Regions from separate parts of the Homo sapiens genome. Here regions 2, 3, 4, 5 and 6 are each linked to region 1. The links are contacts of gene promoters, found by promoter capture Hi-C in human tissues and cell types (Jung and others, 2019). All regions are on one chromosome and are shown on one strand. The core of a region is centred on a gene start or on the middle of the fragment in contact, and the rest is flanking DNA. Distances in the headings are between cores, read along the strand shown.

Region 1 (3,399 bases), core at 417-2,916:
GACCATGTGAGAAAGGGCACCTTTGGTAAAAACAATCGGGGAGGAGGGGCTTAGGGATTAAATACCCAGACCTCCCTCTCTCCTCTTGCCCTCAATCTCCTGCCAGGCCCTTCCACTGGCCAAGCCAAACAGGAAGACCAGGACAGAGAGCTGTCAGTGAAATCCACACAGGCCAGCCTCTGGGGCTGGAGCAGGATGGTAAAGTCTGGCAAGGAAGTCAGAGGAGCAAATGGAGGGGCGGATCCAAAGTGAATCAGCCCAAATCATCCACGTGGCCTGGCCGAGGCTGAGAGCCGTCCTACCCTGGATAAGCCCACCCTTTTCCAAAGGCTGATCCTGGACCGGGGTGGGAAGTAGCTCTGTCGTGGCATGGAGAAGAGTCGTACGGTTTGTTGAAAAGAGCCCCCACTTACTGGCTGTGAAAACACTGGCCAGGAGCCTAAACCTCCCATCCATGCATTATATATTCATTTATCCATTCATTCAGCCAACATCTCCTGAAAGTGACTCAGTGCCCAGCCAGTGCTAGGAGGCACTAGATGAAGAAACGAGGAGCTGCCCCAGCCACGGCAGCTTCAACGTGTGAGATCCACCTAGAGCCAGGCAGTGACGGGCTCCATCCACCGGCTCCCTGACTCTGGACCTTCACTGATGTAATTCCTGTAAGGCACATTCTTCTGAAGTACAGTTCCCAAGTCAGAGGGTCCTCAGGCCTCATTGGAAATGTCCAAATGTCTGGAGGCCGTCCTCTGTAAAAACACCTTTTCCTCCTAGAGTCTGCCTGAGGATGCAAAGACAGCATTTGTGAAAAGCAGGGGCCACGGGGCCCAGCGAGCAGTTAAGTGCTCCGCAACTGGAAATCGATGGCCTTGCTAACAAGCACCCAGCTGCCCCTCACACATAGTCACCACCCTTTTATCCCCTTTTGTTGCTTCCATGGCAATTACATTGCACGTATGCGCATTTGTTGCAGTTTTTCTCTCCCTCACTCCCCATGTCCCAGACTGAGGCTGGGGGAACCTGGTCACGGGTCTCTTGCTCCTCCTGAATCACCAGGGCTTGGGGTGGCTTTAGGAACGCCAGCACTCATACCATGGACTGCACTGCGGAATGGCTTCACATGCACTTAATCCCGGGCGCAGCACCGGCAGGCAGGCGGTACTACTGACACGTGCTACAACATGGATGAGCCTTGAGGACATTATGCCGAGTGAAATAAGCCAGACACAAAAAGACAAACATGGTGCTTGTACTACTAGGCTCATATTATAGACGAAGAGACCCAACCCAGAGAGGTTAAGCAACTTGCCGAGGGCACAGAGTGGAAAAGCGGCAAAGCCGGGATTCGAACCCGGGTGTCCGGCTCTCCAAACTGGCGGTGGATGGCGGCTGCCGGAGCGAGAGTGCTGGAATGAATCGATACGTCAATCAGTGAACGGGCGACGGGGTCAGTCCAGTCCCCTCCCCCGGCGCGGCGGCTCAGCACCGGGACAAAGGCCGGGCGGGGGCCGGACGTGGCCGGCGGGGTTCGCGCGCGGTGGGCGGGGGTCGGGGCCGGGCCCTTTAAGGGGGGCGGGCCGGCGGCGCGGGGGGCGGTGCGGGGGGCGGTGCGGGGGGCGGTGCGGGGGGCGGGCCGGGGGCGGGCGGCGGCGGCTGGGCCCGGCTGGAGTGCGCGCCGAGCGAAGGGCGGCGGCGGTGGCGGCGGCGGCTCGTGCTCGGCCCCGGCTGCGATTGCGCTCAGCTCCAGGTTCCCTGCCCGCGGCGGCGCGCCCCCAGCGCTCCCTGCACCCCGCGCCACCCGCACCCGCGCTCGGCCCGCTGCGGGCGGAGGAGCGGCCATGCCGCCGCGGCGCAGCATCGTGGAGGTGAAGGTGCTAGACGTGCAGAAGCGGCGGGTGCCCAACAAGCATTATGTGAGTGCGGCGCGGCCCCCACGCCCCCTTGAGCCCGCGCCCCGTCGGGGGCGACCGAGGGCCCCCGGCTTGGAAAACTTCTGCCTCCAGCGCTTCCCGTCCCCTCCTCCCCTGCTCTCCCCTCGGCTCTGCGGCGGCGCTGCCCGGGTCCCTCCCGACTCCTCCTCCCTCCCTCCCCTCCCCTCCCCGCTTTTGCCTCGTTCTCCCCCTCCATCCCTTCCTCCCGCCTCGCCCCCCTACTCGCCTCCCTGCGGCTCCTCTACCCCTTTCTGTCTTCTCCGTGTCCCCCCAACTCCCGTCCTGCTCATCTGTGGAAAAGTCTGGCTCCAGCCGGTGAGGGGTCTGAGACAGAAAGCGGGAGAGACAGAAGTGCCTGTTCTCAGGCCGCCCGCCTTGCCCCTCCTTGTCCAGAGGCGCGCAGACCCGCAGTCCCCAGCCACAGGTAGCCCCTCTAGGGTTCGCCGAATTTGACTCCGTTCTTTGGCAAGAGCCGGCCTGGGCGATGGAGGAGATCTCTGGGAATGGATCATTTGAGTGGCTACGCCTTTAAAGGGTTAAAAACATCCCCTGCCCCCTCTCTCCAGTAACTTCTGTTTTAAAATGTACGAAAGTTTTCTCCTGGCATCTCCCTCTGGAACATGGGAATCTTGTTTGGAGCTGGCAAGGACTTGAGAAAATGGGACAGTAGCGTCGTTTTGCAGATAGGAAGGCTGAGGCTCAGAGGTTGCAGGTCCTGGAACATAGAGCTGCATTCGGGCTTCCCTCCCTCCAGCAGGGGTGCCTGGGGCTGACGGTGACCTGCAGGTGGAAAGTGGCTTCCGCAGCAACCTAGGGGACACGTCTGCAGATTCAGGAGGCCCTGGGACCACCTCGCAGGTTCTAGGTGGAGATAAAGGGGATGTGGGGTGATGGGCCCACATGAGGCCTTGGGGAGGGCCTCATTACAGCAGGGAAGGGGGCTATAGTGTCTCTGGCGGTGAGAAGTGGGCAGTGGCGGAGCCTGGCTGCAGAGAAGTTAACCAGGAAGGGAAAAAGAGTAAGAGGGAGGGAAAAAATCCTAACAAAGAAGTATAGAACAATGAATAGAAAAGGGCGTTGGCTGGCTAAATTAAGCTCCTTGGCCTCCCTGGAAGTCGTCTTCAGATCTTTTTTTTTTAAGAACTAATTCTTACAAAGTAGATCTGCATGCCTTCCGTGAATAGCCTGTGAAATTCTGAAAGGAGATAGCCGGGAACCCACTCCGCGCTCTCCACAAGAAAGGGTGTGCTGTGTGAGTCTGTATTGTTATTGGCTGGGCAGCCAGTTATTCAGCCCTTAGCCAGGCGGTGGGAAGCTATTTCCTGGACCTGTGGCATCTTTATATAGAGTGAAGTTTCCCTTGATTCCAGAGCTGAGCTAAATTGTCTTTTTTTTTTCCTTCCTTTTTTTATTTTTTGTTAACTGTTTTCAAATGCTGCCAAATCTTAGTTTCTTGTTTGAGCCTGTT
Region 2 (3,399 bases), core at 611-3,110, 450 kb before region 1:
CAGGCTTCCATCTGCCTGTTTGGCCACCTCACCCTAGAAGGGTGCATCCAAGTCCTCCAGTCAACTATTCTGATCAAAAAGCAGTGGCTCCCATGAGCCTGGGGCCCTGAAATGCTGGGGCCAGGGAAGTGGGGTACAACAGAGGGGAGGTGCTGAGCCTGGGCTTCAGCATCACAGACCCGTGTTTGACTCCAGTTACACCACTTAGTGCTTCATGTGGTTTTGGCCGCCTGGTGCCTCAGTTTCCCCAGCTGTAACATGGGGTGAACAGTAGTAGTTGCCTCAAGGGGTTCTGCGATGACCAATGAGATGACCATCATGAAGTGCTGACCTGCCGGGGGCAGCCTGCATGCCTATAATCCCAGCACTTTGGGAGGCCAAGGTGGGAGAATTGCTTGAGCCCAGAAGTTTGAGACCAGCCTGGGTAACATACAGGGAGACCCCTGTCTCTACAAAGAATTAAAAAATTAGCCAGGCATGGTGGCTCATGCCTGTAGTCCCAGCCACTCGGGAGGCTGAGGCAGAAGGATCGCCCTGGAGGTCGAGGCTACATTAAGCCATAATTGAGCCACTGCCCTCCAGCCCGGGCAACAGAATGAGGCCCTGTTTCAAAAAACAAACAAACAAAAAATAAAAATAAAAATAAAGTGCTGACCTAGGTGTTGGCATGCACACTATAAATCCATGAGTTATAGTATGGAAGGTACCATGAGTTATATTACATTATAAACTATCAGTGGAGAGTTCCAGTTACTATATTTTATTAGTATAAATCCTCATGAGGTTAATAATTATTCAGAGCAGTCAGAGACTGGGCAGTCAGAGGCTGGAACATTCTGTGGCCAGGTTGCCTGAGGAGGGGCCTGCTCCCTGAAAACACGGAGTTTCAGAACACTCTGTGGGGCCTCTTTCCCAAGGATAATTAACGGCCTGTCCAAAGCCAGGTTGGAGCCCAACCACCCAAACAAATGTGCCTCCCCCTCACCCCCCACCAGGCCCAGGCCAGAATAAGCGTCTTATGTCACTGATAACCACAGGCTGGGGCTGGAGCCATGTTGATCCAACCAACGGTGACCTCATTTCCTTAAGTTACAATCTCATGGTGGCGGGAGGGGGCACTGACCCCACTGTGGCCACAAACCTGCCACAGAGGGCCAGCCACCCAGAAGACGAGAACTGTGACCTTCAGTTGTTCCCAAACCTGTAGGGCTTCCTGGGGGCCACAAGCTTCTGACAACTGGAAGACCCCAAAGATGTGATGCTTTCTCCTCTCGATTGCTCTGTAAGTCTTAGGGCTCATCCTGCGGAGGCCCTTCGGGCAACTCCTATACCTTAGTAAGGAGGGAAGGGGACATTAGGGTCACTGCATCTTCATAGCTGGAGCATCTGGCCTCAGCTCCGGACAGATCTCTCTATTCATCTCTGCCTCCCTCCCTCTCTCCAGCCGCTGACTTAGCACAGGGTTGGACTCAAGGCAAATGCTCAAAAAATGTCCTCATGTTTTTTTTTGTTTTTTTTTTTTGAGATAGGGTCTCGCTCTGTCTCCCAGGCTGGAGTGCCGTGGTGCAATCATGGCTCACTGCAGCCTGGATCTCTTGAGCTCAAGTGATCCTCCCACCTCAGCCTCCCAAGTAGCTGGGACTACAGGTGTGTGTGTCCACGGCTAACTAATGTTTTTAAAATTTTTTTGCAGAGACAGGATCTCACTGTGTTGTCCAGGCTGGTCTCGAACTCCTGGGCTAAGTGATCCTCTGGCCTTGGCTTTTCAAAGTGCTGGGATTACAGGTGTGAGCCACTGCACCTGGCCCCCTTCCTCCCCTCATCCCTAAGCTTTGTACCTCTCCAGGGACTCGGTGGGATCAGAGCGTCCGGGATGCCGCTGGGAGAGAGGGAGAGGAAGTCCTGGCACGGGGGAATGGGGAGCAGTGGGAACACACTGTGCTCTTCAGAAAGAAGCAGCCCTGCCCTTGGGAAGCTGCATGAGTTGTCTGGGCTTGCTGGAAGGGCCCTTCCCCAATGCTCCCGGGCATTCTGCGGGTGGGGCCCCACCTGCTCGAGCCTCAAGCTGTGACGTCAAAACTCACTTGTTGGCAGCCCATTGCCTCAGTGCCCCACCTCATGTGGGATGAGCTGGGAATGCCACCCCACACGCTGTCAGCAGCAGGCAAGAGAGGCATCTTCTTAACTCAAAGCGGAAGAGGGGACAAGGAATTCACATTCCCTGAGTACTTATATGCCTGGTGCGGAGCGGCCTTAAAACCTTTTTAGAGTTAGATGCAGACTATGTAGGAAATGAATAAATGCACGAAGAGATATGGACCTTATGATATTAAAGTATAGCCGCACTATATTAAGTTAGCTTTCAGCTAAATAATCTTGTTTGATCCTCATAAAATATCATGTACCTGCAGCCATCTCATTTTCTACCTCCTGCCCTGCTTTAGTTCTTGTCTTTGGAGTACTTGCCCCTGATCGATACAGTCTAGTTTTGTTTGCTTGTTGACTGTGTCTACCACTGGCGTTTTCAGCTCCTCCATGTGTGGAGCCACAGAGCAGTGAGTGTGCAGGTCCAGCCCTGGGCTCCACGAGCTCATCATCAAGAAGTGAGTCCCAGGCTAGGCGCAGTGGCTCACGCCTGTAATCCCAGCCTGGGATTACAGGCTGAGGCGGGTGGATCATTTGAGGTCAGGAGTTCGAGACCAGCCTCACCAAAATGGTGAAAGGCTGTCTCTACTAAAAATACAAAAATTAGCTGGACATGGTGGTGCTTGCCTGTAATTCCAGTTACTCAGGAGGCAAAGCACAAGAATCTCTTGAACTCGGGAGGCGGAGCTTGCAGTGAGCCGAGATCACGCCACTGCACTACAGCCTGGACGACAGAGCGAGACTCCGTCTCCAAAAAAAAAAAAAAAAAAAAAAAGAAGTAACTCCCAATTCTACCTGGCAGCTCAGAAGGCCTGGCCCCTCTCCGTCCTGCCTGCTCTACCTCCTACCCTCTCCGCTTGCTCACTTTGACCTGGCTGATTGGCCTTCTTCCTGCCTTCACATACACCAGGTCATCCCTGCCTGAGGCCCTTTGCACCTGCTGGTGTCCTGCCCACAGCACATAAAGCCACCTGCCTGGTGCCTGGTCTCAGCAGATGACACATGTGTGCCTCTGTCACCTTGCTCAGAACATGACAGGCCTGCCAAGCCAAGCAGGTCCCCTCCTAGAGGGTGGGGTACAGCCTGCAGAGGCCAGTGGGTGCCTGGCATACAACAGGTACCTCATAACATTAGCAAGTCTCAACCTCTTGCCGCTCTCCCTGCTTCGAGCTCTGATTCATGATAGGGTGATCCTAAGATGTCCAGTGACTGAGTTGTACAGAGGGGAAGATGCTTGACTTGGACATGGCCATC
Region 3 (3,399 bases), core at 320-2,819, 380 kb before region 1:
GGCAGGGGCAAGAAGCCGGCAAACATTTGCTAGCTGGTATCAGGGACCCGGACAGGCTGGAAAACCATGTCAACCAATCAAGAGGTCCAAGACCAGTGTCCTCTTTGGGCCTAAACCCCAATATATCCCATGCTATGGGGGTCATGGCAGGCTAAGGGCCTTTCTCTCTGGGTAGACTGTCACTTTACACTGCCTTCACATGCAAGAAGAGGGGAAGAAATACCTCCTGTGGCACAGGCATCTGAATCACTATTTTGTGGATGTGGAAAACCCCTCCTGGAGAACACCCCCCATCCACTAATGCCCTATTTCTGAGCTCTAAATCATGCCAGACTCTGCTAAGGGTGTTTCACGCACTCAGTCGTCACAAGCGGAGACCTTATTTTTAGCCCCAATTTGCAGGTGGTGAAACTGAGGGCGCTCGGAGACTTGCTGAGGTCAGCCAGCCGAGCGGCGACAGGGAGTTCTGAACCCAGAGCCTTTGCCCCTAACTTCTAGAATATACCGAGCTGTTCAGTAGAAAGGGCAGAGCCAGGATTCTAATCCAGCTCCTCCCTGCATTAAAGCCCTGCTCTTTTCCCAGCCAGACACCAAGTGTGGCTGCCTCAGGCCAGGACATCCCCTGGGGCTCCACACCTCAAGGGAACCTCTGGTGGAGATCTCTTCCCCCGCAGGCTTCCAGAATGCCCCATGCAACCTAGACCATGAGGCAGCTGGACCCCACAAAGGACCCATTGTGGTGACTGCAGAAAGCCAAGGCCAGACCCCGGTGGCCCTTCTGCAGAGTCCTGCCCAAGGCGCCTCCTCCCCTTCCCATGGTGCCCCCATACCCAGCGGACAGGGCTGGGGCTGAGGGAGGGAGGGGCGGGGGCAGGCCTCCCGATCTGCCCGGCCTGGGGGAGCCTCAGGCTATAGAAACTTAAAACCCTCCAGCTGCCGGCAGGCTGCATGGGGCCCCAGGCCCCTCCGGACTCATTCCAGGTGCCCTGCCCCACCTGTCAGCTGAGGTGGGGTCCACCAAGGAGGCTCAGTAGAGGGAGGAGAGGGATGCTGGGGTGTTATGGGCTGTTCCCATCTGGGAGGAGGGAGGAAATGTTTCCTAGTGTGGGGGAGGGGAATGCAAGGTATCCGGGCAGGCTGGGGAGGGGGCTCGGCGGAGGGAAGGTGGGTGGATTTGTCTCCCGCTGCACGAGGGGGCCTCCGCGGCTCTGGCTGGCTTCGTGTGCGGCAGGGGGGGGGCTCGCCTGGGGTCCCTAGGGGCCTGCGGAGGCATGCACAGGGCGGGGAGCCGCTTTTGCATGCAGGGCGGGAGGGGTCCGCGGCGTGCCGGGGCGCTCCCTCTGCCCGCTGAGGGAACTCCCGACTGGCCGGGGTCGCCACACTCACCTCCTGAAGTCAAAGGGCATCGTGCCGCCGCCGGGGGTGGGAGCGCTGCAGGCCAGGCGGGCCGCGGCGCCGCGTGGGTCCGAGCCCGCTGCCAACGCCTCCTCCGGCCGCCCCGCCCCCGCCGGCCGCCCCCCTGACACTCGCCACTCGCCACTCGCCACTCGCCTCCCGCTGCCGGGAAGTGACGCTCCGCGCAGCCCATTGGGCGCCGCCCGCCCGGCCGCCCCTTCCGCCACCCGGTTAAAGGGGCCCGCGGGCAGGCAGGGAAGGGGCGGAGAGTCGAGGCTGTCGGAAGGGAAGGGAGTCCCCCAAAGACTCCAGTACTCATTCCTTCAAGCCTCCCACTTAGATTTCCTTCTCCATCTCTTTGGATGCCCTCGGACAAATTCTCTGCTTCTCCGAGCCCAGTTTTTTGCATTTGTAAACAGTTTCACTGAACTGTGATTGAGTTGGGGGCGGGGGGCGGGGTGATACAGACTTTGGCCGTGCACAGCGTCTAGCTCTGAGTGAGGGCCTAATACTGTGGGGGAAGGGAAGAGGTCGGCCATCCTAGGCTGTTAAGGTGGACTCACCTCTGCCCCTGCCGTGTCTCTCTGGGAAAGCCACTGGGCTTCTCAGAGCGCCCCCCCCCCGCCCCGCCCCTTTTGCATATCTGCACAAAGAGGACGATGACACCTACTTGAGGGGGTTTTCCTGGGGATCAGCTGAGAAACAGGAGACTGGCTTAGCACAGTGCCAGGCACCTGAAACTATTGAGGCTGGCAGTGGCTGTCCCTGCTTCCATCTGCCCCTGTCGTTCACTCCAGTGGGCATTCACAGAGCATCTGCTCTGAACCAGGTCCATCGAGAACATGCAGGGTTGTGGCAGAGGCAGATGGGACCTGCACTGTGACTTGGCCAACGTGGACTGTGCCGATTGTCTCCTTCTTAGAGCCTCAGTTTCCTCCTCAGGAATACAGAGCAGCTGCCTCCGTGACTGCTGGATTAGAGGAGATGGTAGTTGAGGTCACACAAGACCTGAGTAGGGGAAACTCACTCTGAACTTCCCCGAGGTTCTGTCACTGGCCCTTTCTCCAAGGTTGTGGTGGGACAGGGCTTCAAAAAACCCAGGGGAGAATGGTGAGGGCTCGGGTTCCAAAAGCAGAGTCAATGGACAGTTTCCCCCTGTGTAAATAGAGGGGAACAGCAGTGCTGGTTCCTCCGGGAGGATTCAGAAGGGACAACACTAGCACGGGGTCTGGGGTAGGGTGACGTGGTGAACCAAAGCCTTCCCCTAGAGCATATGCCGGGACCTGACCTCTGCGTTCCCTTTTCATTCATTCACTCATTCATTCATTCATTCATTCAGTGTCAGTGGTCTGACACTGTTGGGGGAGAAAAGGAAATCTCAGCCTGAACTGGAAACCTAGGGACAGCAGGGAGAGTTAAGGGATCTTGAGCAGCCACTGCTTCCAAACAGCCATTCGTTGGCCCTGTGTGGGAGGAAACATGCAATGATGGATCTTTGACCTCGAATCCTCCCTCCTCAAACTGTGGTCCACAGACCAGCCACATGGCCATCACAGGACAGACTCTTGTCCCCAGGCCAGACCTACTGAATCAAGTGTGCATTTGGGATGATATCCAAGGTCAGCAAATGCCTGGCACAGAGTAAATGCAAGACAGGGTTGACTATCATTGCTCTTTTCGAGTGGGGATAGAGCTCCCAACTTTTGGCTGGGCATGTGGGTGCTCACAGTGAAAGTTGCATTTCCCCAGCTTCCTTTGTAGCTAGATGTGGCATTGAGAAGTAAAGGGAAGTGTCTTGTGGGGCATCTGGGATAGTTGGTATGTCTGCTTTACCCTCTGTGTCCCTTTCTCCATCTGGCTGCCAGGAATGTAGGCGTCACCATCCTGGACCATAAGGTGGAGGCCACCACAGAGCAGAGCAACAAGACAAAAAGAGCCTAAGTTCCTGCCGGGCACAGTGGCTCACACCTGTAATTGCAGCACTTTGGGAGGCCGAGGTGGGCG
Region 4 (3,399 bases), core at 319-2,818, 360 kb before region 1:
AATTAAAGAACAAATGTAGAATGAATACCCATGTATCCATCACCCAGCTTAAGAAATAGATCATCATCAATATCCAAGAAGCCCTCTCATGCCCCACTCTGATCATGTGCCTCTTTCTACCCACCCTGAGTAGCCACCGTCTTGAATTTGTGCAAATCGTTCTTTTTTTTTTTTTTTTTTTTTAGACAAGGTCTTGCTCTGTTGCCTTGGCTGGAGTGCAGTGGCATAATCACGGCTCACTGCAGCCTCGACCTCCTGAGCTCAAGCAATTCTCCTGCCTCAGCCTCCTGAGTAGCTGGGACTACAGGCATGCGCCACCATGCCTGGCTAATTTTTTATTTGTTGTAGAGACAGAGTTTCACCATGTTTCCCAGGCTGGTCTCACACTCCTGAACTCAAGCAATCCTCCCACCTCGGCCTCCCAAAGTGCTGAGATTACAGGTGTGAGTCACCACGCCTGGCCCCTTTGCTTTTCTTTATATAGTTTTACGATAGATAGATAGATAGATAGATAGAGTCCCAAAATGATGTAATGTTTTTTACCTTTATATATAATTGGATTGTATTATTTTGTAATTTGCCCTTTTCATGTATTGTGTTTGTGAGATTCACCCGTGTTGATGGTGCAGGTTTAGATCATTCATTGTCATTGCTGTACAATAATACACCGTATGAATATACTGTATTTATCTATGCTCCTGCTGATATACATGTGGGTGGTTTCCAGGAATTTTTTTTTTATCTTTAAAACATTTTATTAAGCTAAATGATTACTGGTATTTTTCTATTATGATATACACATGTACATACAGCATATACATGTGTATATGTTGTATACATGTGTATATATGTCTATACTCTGTCTATATATATAAACATTTACCTTTTTAGCCATTGCTTTCTTTCTTTCTTTTTTTTTTTTTTTTTGGAGACAGTTTCACTCTTGTCTCCCAGACTGGAATGCAGGGGCAAAACCTCAGCTCACTGCAACCTCTGCCTCCCAGGTTCATGCCATTCTCCTGCCTCAGCCTCCCGAGTAGCTGGGACTACAGGCGCCTGCCACCATGCTCGGCTAATTTTGGTATTTTTAGTAGAGATGGGATTTCTCCATGTTGGCCAGGCTGGTCTTGAACTCCAGACCTCAAGTGATCCACCTGCCTCGGTCTTCCAAATGCCAGGATTACAGGTGTGAGCCACCACCCCCAGCCTCATTTTAGCCATTTTTAAGTGTATAGTTCAGTGGTATTAAGTACATTCACATTGTTGTACAACCATTGCCACCATCCATCTCCAGAATTTTTCATCTTCCCAAACTAAAACTCCGCACCCATTAAGCCATAACTCTCCATTCCTCTCTCCCCTCAGCCTTTGGCAACCAGCATTCTACCTTCTGTCTCTATGAATTTGACAACTTTAGGGACCTCATATAAGTGGAATGATACAGTATTTGTCTTTTTGTGAGTCTAGCTTGTTTCACTTAGCATAACGTCCTCAAGGTTCATCCATGTTGTTGCATATGTCAGAATTTCCTTCCTTTTGAGGCTGAAAGATATTCTATTATATGTATATACCATATTTTGTTTATTTATCCATTGATGGACATTTGGGTTGCTTCCACCTTTTTTAGCTATTGTGAAGAATGCTGCTATGACCATCAGTATAAAATATCTGTTTGAGTTTCTGCTTTCAATTTTTTTTTTTTTTTAACATTCCCGCTCTGTTGCTCAGGCTGGAGTGCAGTGGCACAATCTCAGTTCACTGCAACCTCTGCCTCAAGAGAGTTCAAGCGATTCTCTTGCCTCAGTCTCCCAAGTAGCTGGGATTACAGGTGTGTACGACCACACCCGGCTAATTTTTGCATTTTTAGTAGAGACGGGGTTTCGCCATGTTCAGGCCAGGCTGGTCTCGAACTACTGGCCTCAAGTGATCTACCTGCCTCGGTGTCAGGCCTCTGAGCCCAAGCTAAGCCATCATATCCCCTGTGACCTGCACGTATACATCCAGATGGCCTGAAGTAACTGAAGATCCACAAAAGAAGTGAAAATAGCCTTAACTGATGACATTCCACCATTGTGATTTGTTTCTCCCCCACCCTTAAGAAGGTTCTTTGTAATTCTCCCCACCCTTGAGAATGTACTTTGTGAGATCCACCCACTGCCCGCAAAACATTTCTCCTAACTCCACCTCCTATCCCAAAACCTGTAAGAACGAATGATAATCCCACCACCCCTTGCTGACTCTCTTTTTGGACTCAGCCTGCCTGCACCCAGGTGATTAAAAAGCTTTATTGCTCACACAAAGCCTGTTTGGTGGTCTCGTCACACGGACGCGTGAGACACTTGGCCTCCCAAAGTTCTGGGACTACAGGCTTAAGCCACCGCCCCAGACCCCTGCTTTCAGTTATTTTGGGTGTATTCTCAAAAGTGGAATTTCTGGATCATATGGTAATTCTATGTGTAATTTTTTGAGGATCCACAGTGTGTTTTCCACAGTCTCTGCACCATGCTACATTTCCCACCAGTAGTGCACAAGCATTCTAATTTCCCCACATGCTCACCAACACCTGTTATTTTCTGGCATTTTTATTTAAAATTTTTTTTTTATCATAGCCATCCTAATGTATGTAAAATGGTCCCAGAATTTTATTTATTTTTTTGAGATGAAGTCTCATTCTGTCACCCAGGCTGGAGTGCGATAGCACAATCTCGGCTCACCACAACTTCTGCCTCCCAGGTTCAAGTGATTCTCCTGCCTCAGCCTCCCAAGTAGGTGGAACTACAGACACGCACCACCATGCCAGGCTGATTTTTGTGTTTTTAGTAGAGACAGGGTTTCACCATGTTGGCCAGGCTGGTCTCAAACTCCTGACCTCAAGTGATCTGCCCGCCTCAGCCTCCCAAAGTGCTGGGATTACAGGCTTGAGCCACCACGCCCAGCTGGTTCCAGAATTTTTAATAAACGACAGCTATGACCATTCTTGTACATATACCCTGATGCACATGTACAAGAGGTTTTTCTAGTTATGTAATTAGAGTTGGAATTGCTGGGTCATAAGATGTGAGTGTTCTATTTTCTTTTTCATTTTTTTTTGAGACGGAGTCTCACTCTGTCACCCAGGCTGGAGTGCAGTGGCATGATCTTGCTCACTGCAACCTCCGCCCCCTTGGTTCAAGTGATTCTCCTGTCTCAGCCTCCCAACTAGCTGGTTTAAGAGGCTGCTGCTACCGTGCCCGGCTAATTTTTTTTTTTTTTTTTTTGAGACAGAGTCTTGCTGTTGCCTGGGCTGGAGTGCAGTGGCACAGTCTCAGCTCACTGCAAGCTCCACCTCCCGGGTTCACGCCATTCTCCTGCCTCAGCCTCCCGAGTAGCTGGGACTACAGGCGCCCGCCACCACGCCCG
Region 5 (3,399 bases), core at 330-2,829, 300 kb before region 1:
TTTGGAAGACAGTTCTGGTGGAGACACATGCTCTAGCTCCCGCCCACAGTTCAGTCAGGGAACCAACCATACTGAGCTATTAGTAGTGCCGGGCCCTGCATGGGACGCTGGGTGCACAGGGATGGGAGAGACACGGTTTCTGACCTCAGGCTCTCCTGGCAAGTGGTGGAGACTGATGCATTGGCCCATGATTTTGCCACAGTGATCTGGGGGCTGTAGGTGAGGTGCGGGCAGAGCAAGGGGGTGGAGAAATGCAGGGAAGAGTGGGCAGAGGAGAGAACAATACAGGAAGGCTTCCTGGAAGAGGTGACCCTTGAGCCCTAGAAGGCTGAGCACGTGGCACAGGAAGGACTCCCATCTCAAGTGTCGAGGGATGACCTGATGCCAATTTATTGCTGTTCCATAGATTTTATAAGAGGAATAAAGGCCTCAGGACTTGTTCCAGGCCCAACCTTCTTCCCTAGAACTGAATTCCCAAGAGCCCTCATGAGGGTCCCTGCCCTTATGCTGCTATTTTACGCAAAAAGGATCAGAGCCCCGTGTCCCCTGCGGTGGGTGTTTCAGAGTGTGGGCACCGGGCTGCTCTGAAGCCAAGGAAATGACCAGCCGGGAAGAAGGACTGGAAAGCACTAGCCTGTCCGCTGGCCCCAGCTTCCCTCAATGTCATCATCGGATGAGCAGTTTAGGCTGTTCTCCCTTCACCATGAGCCAGAGGAAGGGTCTGTTGTAGGTTTCACTGGCCACTCTCCTTCGTCGTGTCCTCATCATCATCAATGACTTAAGACTTTCTGAGCCATAGCCAAAGACTTCAGGCAGCAGCTTTGTGTTCTAGCCCCAAGTGTAGCATTTCCTTGCTGTGTGACTCTCAGCAAGTTACATCACCTCTCTGGGCTTCAGATTCCTACTTATCTGCTTTATTTTTTGAGACAGGTCTCACCCAGTATTTGCTTTACATATGTGACTGATTTAGTACATCCATCTAGCCTGCTTGGTGGGCTTATTATTATTGCCACGTTTAGCAAACCATTGATAGAGTTTGGATGTTTTGTCCCCTCCAAATCTCACCTTGAAATGTGACCTCCAGTATTGGAGGTGGGGACTAGTGGGAGGTGTTTGGGCCATGGGGGTGGGTTCGTCCCTCATGAATGGCTTGGTGCTGTCCTCGGGGTAATGAGTGAGTTCTTTTTTTTTTTTTTGAGACAGAGTCTCGCTCTGTCACCCAGGCTGGACAGTGCAATGGCTTGATCTCGGCTCACTGCAAACTCCGCCTACTGGGTTCAAGTGATTCTCCTGCCCCAGCCTCCTGAGTAGCTGGGATTACAGGCACCCACCACCACATCGGGCTAATTTTTGTATTTTTAGTAGAGACAGGGTTTCACCATGTTGGCCAAGCTGGTCTTGAACTCCTAACCTCAAGTGATCCGCCTGCCTCGGCCTCCCAAAGTGCTGGGATTACAGGCATGAGCCACTGTGCCCAGCCAAGTGAGTTCTGACTACGAGTTCACGTGTGATCTGGCTGTTTATTTATTTATTTATATATTTTTTAAGATGGAGTCTCACTCTATTGCCCAGGCTGGAGTGCAGTGGCATGATCTCGGCTCACTGCAATCTCTGCCTCCTGGGTTCTAGCAATTCTCCTGCCTCAGCCTCTCCAGTAGCTGGGATTATAGGCAACTGCCACCATGCCAGGCTAATTTTTGTATATTTAGTACCGACGGGATTTCACCATGTTGGCCAGGCTGGTCTTGAACTCCTGACCCCAAGTGATCTGCCTGCCTTGGCCTCCTTAAGTGCTGGGATTATAGGTATGAGCCACTGCACCTGCCGAGATCTGGCTATTTAAAAGAGCCTGGCCCTTCCTCCCTCTCCCTCTTGTACCCTCTCACCATTTGATACACAGGCTCCTTCCTTTAGCTTCCACCATGACTAGAAGCTTCCAGAGGACTCACCAGAAGCTGAGCAGATGCTGGCACCATGCTGCCTGTACAGCCTGCAGAGCTGTGGGCCAAATAAACCTCTTTTCTTTATAAATTACCCAGTCTTGGGTATCCCTTTATAGCAATGCAAAACAAACTAATACACCATGTCACCTGGAGGGAGTAGCTGAGGCCTGGAGAAGGAGAGGACTTACCCACAGCTCAGGTTTAACACAGTGTGTGGTCCAAGACCTAAGCCTGGCAGGGCCTTCCACTGTACCAGGCAAGACAAGGGTGAATCCCACCCTCACTCAGGGGCCTAACATCCCCTTTAAGGTTGGGGAAAGTAGGAAGTACCAAGGATGGCACTAAATGAGAAGCTCCCCCAAGGACTCCTAGAATAAAGGTTCATGTGTCCTGTGTCCTCAGCACTTGATAGACCACTTACAGACCATTGTGACAGACCATTGTGATGCTGACTATGTAGAGATTCACAGACCACTGTGACACTGACTATGTAGAGCAGAAAGGCTGGTTGTTCCCCAGGCTCTAGTCTTCCTTAGTAATAGGCTTTTGGCCAGGTATATGTCCACATTCCCCAGCCTCTCTTACAGCCAGACATAGCTGTTTGAATGTCAAACCTAATGTGTGTGCAACTTCCAGGGAGTGTCCTTAAAGAGAGGGCTGATACATTTCTTCCCTGTTTTGTCCTTCCTGTGGTCTGGAATACAGAGTGATGGCTGGAGCTGAGGCAGCCATTTTTAGCCATGAAGTGATGTCGGGAATGACGGCAGAGCAGAAAGACAGAGGGAGTCTCCTTCCCTTAGGACTGTTGAGGGGCAATTCTCCATGGCATTCTTATACCTCTTGTGACACCTTTTGCGTGGAACCATCTTTTCAGGATGTTTATATGACAAATAGCCTGGGGGAGCAGGAATAGTGTCTCACTCTGGAGCAGAGGACAGATTTATTTCCTGACCAGGATTATAAAGATAATGCCTTTCTCCAGGTTGAATGTTGACCGGGTTCGTTAGCAGCCTCTTATGCTTATAAGATTAGGAGTTTCCTAAGCTCAGTATATCTCAGCTCTGACATGAGCCCTGTGTGCACAGGATCCACCTGGGCCTCCTGCTCCAGCCCCATGGAACTTAGGAGGCAAGTAAACCAGAGCAAAGATAAAGCTTGAGCTGCCTACTGTGTTGTGAGTAATAAAGTCCTTTGTCTCTGACCTAAGAGTCCTGAGTCTTCTGCTGGCATCTGTGCAATTGTGGTAAGCTCGTTGTTAGTTTGCAAGTAGGAGAAAAGAAATCTCAGACCCTTCATATGTCTGACAAGGACTTCATGGAGCAGAGCACTATCATTAGCTCTGGTGCACTTTTTAAAGTTTTCCTTTTTCTAACTTCATTGAGATAATATTTATTTTAATAACTATATCTCACTTAAGCTTACAATTTAATATATTCTGACAGATTTATACAGTTTT
Region 6 (3,399 bases), core at 397-2,896, 280 kb before region 1:
CCTCCCAGGTTCAAGCGATTCTCCTGCCTCAGCCTCCCAAGTAGTTGGGATTACAGGCGCACACCACCATGCCCGGCAATTTTTGTATTTTTAGTAGAAATGGGGTTTCACCATGTTGCCCAGGCTGGTCTTGAACTCCTGACTTCAAGTGATCTGCCCACCTCGGCCTCCCAAAGTGCTGGATTATAGCCATAAGCCACCGTGCGCAGCCCATTTATTTTTAAAGCAGATATTTGCTTGTTCATCTACAAATGTTTATTGAGTGTCAAGTCCTCATTAGGACACAGAGAGAAGTAAAAGTTTCCCTTGACCCTCAATTGCCTCGTAGCCTAGCACGACAGTCAGACATAAATAAATGGGAGCCCTCTCTTTGTGTGGTAGTGGGGGACCCTACAGGGCATAGTACTTCCATTCTCTCTCACATAAAATTTTCTTATTCAGAATCTACAAATACACATACACGTTACTGTAGTCGCAGGTTTGACATATGTTCTGTTCTCATGTGGGTTATATGTAATCTTACAATTTTAACTTTTCAATGTTACACGTATATTTTTGTGTCCAGAAGTGAGATATTTTATATCTTATGCTTCCATTTAACAAAATGGAAAATATACAATAGATCCTTTTTAAAAGGTACTTTTTTCTTGTGATTTTAATAGTAGTACATTTTCAATGGAGAAAATTTAGCAAATACAGAAAAAAAAAGACATGTAAATAAAGACCACTCATAACCTCACACCACCCAGAGACAGGAATATCAACATGTTGCCATCTTTCCTTCTAGTCTTCCTTCTAGGCTGTCTGCTATGTTATGTGTATTCGTATGAAGACACATGTTGTCTAACGTGGTGTTCAAGTCCAATGATACTGGTAGGGGTCTGGGTGTCCCAGCAGAGGGAAACACTTTCATAACACACCTCCCTTCCAGAGGGAGCCTCTATTTCCTTCTCTCCAGGTCACTAACTCACTCTGCAGCAGCCACTAAATGCAGGAGTCCAGGCCACTGGTCAGCCGGTGGCAGGGAGGGTTTCTGGAAGGGCCCAGGAAAGGTTCTGAGCCCAGGCCCAAGGCTGGGGAGTCTGAGTTCTTGAGCCCCACCCCTAGGAGGGTGAGGAGGTGGGGAGAGCAAGGGAATTACTGTTGGGACAGAGAGCGTCTCCCCCAGCCCCCTGAGCCAAGGCTCTAAATAAGGGCCCTGGATCCGCTGTGTCGAGCGACAGCTGAGAATCCCTGTGGCTCGGTGTCCCCACATCCGCTGCCAGAGTCACTGGGGGTGGGGGGTGGGGGGTGGGAAGTGGGGTGCTAAGGAGCCAAGACCCAGCACCCAACCTTTACCAGTGCCCCCGACAGCCTTGCTGAGCAAAGGAACTTCTCAGAGAGAGAGAAAAAAAAAAGGCCCTGGGAATGTTAAACCCAGTCTGTGAAACAGAAGTCCTGCTTCTCTCCATGGAGTGGCAGCGTAACAGTCACCATTTTTCGCCACAGTAGGAAAGAAAGAACAACCATGAGAGGGTTGGTGCTGTGACTCTTCCTGCAGAACCTTCATGACAGCTCTAGGAGGTAGGCGTCCCTGTCCCCATGACAGCAAGGTGGAATCTGAGGCTGGGAGCAGAGGTGACTTGCCCATGGTCACACAGGGCTGGGGTGACTCCCCATGCTCTCCTGTCCCTGCTCCTGCCCGCCCCTGGCCCTGTGTGGGGCTTCCCTCTCTCCAGGCACCGCGCAACCTGCCTGATGGACTTCACCGCCCCGGGTCCCCACCTCTCCCTATCCCTGTGCAGGCAGGAAACACGGGCTCCTCATCTCGGCTTCCCAGCAGCCCCAGTCTGGCCCTCCCATAGAAATATTTATCTAGTGAATGAATAAACACAGAGGGGGCCCTGCACATAAAACCAGGCCGGCCGGGACAGCATCCTCCAGCACAGGCTCTCCACGCCTCATGTGCAGATGCACACATGTGTGTATGTTTATGCGTGTGTGTGTGTGTGTGTGTGTGTGTGTGTGTGTGTGTGCATGCAGGTATGTGTGTGGGGAGCCAGGGGGTGGAGTGGAGTGGTTGGACACACAGACTCGAGAGCCAGACTGCCTGGGTCTGAATCCCAGCTTCTCAGCTGTGTGCCGTTGGGCAAGTGGCTGTCCCTCTCTGTGTCTGTCTTTGCCTCTGTGAAATAGTGGAGGGATAAATAGTCTCTGCCTCATCATTCATGCATGAGCGCTGGTATAGGAGTTAGTCCAGTGCCTGGCACAGAGCAAAAGCTTTTAGAATGCAACAAATTATTGGGGAAACTGAGTCAAGATCACCAGATGAAGTGACTTTATGACTTGTGCAGGGGAGAGGCCACGTGCACCAAGAGGCTTTTGCGAGGAGGTCACACCAGAATTGTTCTGGAACTCTCCTGCCTGCAAGCCTTCGATGGCTCCTCCGCTGTCCTCAGAGCAGTCCAGAGGGGGTTCGTTGGTTGCCTGCAGGGCTCCCAAGGCTCCCTGTGGGCTGGAACCCTGCCCATCTCTGGGGTTTGCCTCTGTGACCCTGCTCTGTTCCCACCTTCCCCACCACGGCCTCCATCCCTTCCTGCAAGTGGATCAGCCCAAACCCTGGAGCTGTGTTGATGACTTTATCTCCCTCCCACCTAGGCCTGCCTCGCAGCTCTTCCTCCAAAATATATGCTGGCTCGGCTGCCGCCCACCCCTCCAGGGCCCACCCCTCAGGACTGCCCAGTTGTCTCTCGCCTGGCCTCAAGTCCCTGCTGGGCTTCCATCCTTGGCCACAAGGCAGCCAGAGGGGTCCTTTGAAAATATGGCTCTGAGAGTCCCACCTCCCCAACACGCTTGGGGGACACCTCCAATGCCTGGCTGGTACACCAAGCCCTAGCTGCTCAGGCCCTGCCACCCCCTCCCTGCCTTCACTCTCTTTGCTTTACCCTGCAGGCCTCCCTCCCAGGTGCCCGCAGAGCCTGGGCACCTGCCCCACAGTGCCAGCATCTCCCCCAGGTCTCTGCCCAAATTCACCTGCTCAGAGAGGCCTTCCCTGGTCTCCCCAACTGGCCCCCATACACACAAACACACACACACATGCACACACACATACATACACAAATACACATAGATATACACACAAACACACACTTACACATACATACACAGGCACAGCATACACACACAAGTCCACATACATACAATATGCCGTCATAGAGCTTACACTTTAGAGAGATGGACAATATTGTAAAGTTTATAAATAAGTGATTTGTGCATTTCATACATAAAATTAAAAAAGAATATAATTTTGGGTGGAAATAAGCACTTTAAAAAGCTAAGGAGGTGGCTGGGCGTGGTGGCTCACACCTGTAATCCCAGAACTTTGGGAGGCCGAGATGGGTGGGTCACCTGAGGTCAGGA

What was found. Contacts are between HindIII fragments. The study calls those that stand out against the background at their distance.
Region 2: a fragment that was not itself captured here is called in contact with the fragment with the promoter of SH3PXD2B in region 1 in 1 of the 25 tissues and cell types used here (dorsolateral prefrontal cortex).
Region 3: the fragment with the promoter of ERGIC1 here is called in contact with the fragment with the promoter of SH3PXD2B in region 1 in 3 of the 25 tissues and cell types used here (H1 embryonic stem cells, adrenal gland and mesenchymal stem cells).
Region 4: a contact is called between a fragment that was not itself captured here and the fragment with the promoter of SH3PXD2B in region 1, in 1 of the 25 tissues and cell types used here (mesendoderm cells).
Region 5: a fragment that was not itself captured here is called in contact with the fragment with the promoter of SH3PXD2B in region 1 in 1 of the 25 tissues and cell types used here (mesenchymal stem cells).
Region 6: a fragment that was not itself captured here is called in contact with the fragment with the promoter of SH3PXD2B in region 1 in 3 of the 25 tissues and cell types used here (heart left ventricle, mesenchymal stem cells and neural progenitor cells).

Annotation. Positions count from the first base shown.
Region 1 is chr5:172,452,792-172,456,190 of GRCh38, reverse strand. SH3PXD2B (SH3 and PX domains 2B) reads left to right here and starts at 1,666. Exons shown (of 13, transcript NM_001017995.3): 1 at 1,666-1,913. The coding sequence starts at 1,839. RefSeq lists an enhancer at 2,179-2,700. The HindIII fragment of the contact is 19,152 bases long and covers 1-3,399 here.
Region 2 is chr5:172,898,833-172,902,231 of GRCh38, reverse strand. All of the region lies in intron 3 of ERGIC1 (endoplasmic reticulum-golgi intermediate compartment 1), which reads right to left. Among named protein-coding and RNA genes, the nearest start is that of MIR10523, 15 kb to the left of the region's middle. RefSeq lists an enhancer at 1-496. The HindIII fragment of the contact is 4,655 bases long and covers 1-3,399 here.
Region 3 is chr5:172,832,421-172,835,819 of GRCh38, reverse strand. It overlaps ERGIC1 (endoplasmic reticulum-golgi intermediate compartment 1), which reads right to left and starts at 1,569. Exons shown (of 10, transcript NM_001031711.3): 1 at 1,387-1,569. The coding sequence starts at 1,406. RefSeq lists enhancers at 127-336, 1-823 and silencers at 807-886, 897-946, 1,317-1,716. The HindIII fragment of the contact is 25,389 bases long and covers 1-3,399 here.
Region 4 is chr5:172,812,090-172,815,488 of GRCh38, reverse strand. No RefSeq gene overlaps it. Among named protein-coding and RNA genes, the nearest start is that of ERGIC1, 20 kb to the left of the region's middle. The HindIII fragment of the contact is 5,136 bases long and covers 1-3,399 here.
Region 5 is chr5:172,754,432-172,757,830 of GRCh38, reverse strand. It overlaps LOC101928093 (a long non-coding RNA gene), which reads right to left and starts at 2,328. Exons shown (of 4, transcript NR_161233.1): 1 at 2,132-2,328. The HindIII fragment of the contact is 3,300 bases long and covers 1-3,229 here.
Region 6 is chr5:172,734,717-172,738,115 of GRCh38, reverse strand. No RefSeq gene overlaps it. Among named protein-coding and RNA genes, the nearest start is that of DUSP1, 35 kb to the left of the region's middle. The HindIII fragment of the contact is 6,850 bases long and covers 1-3,399 here.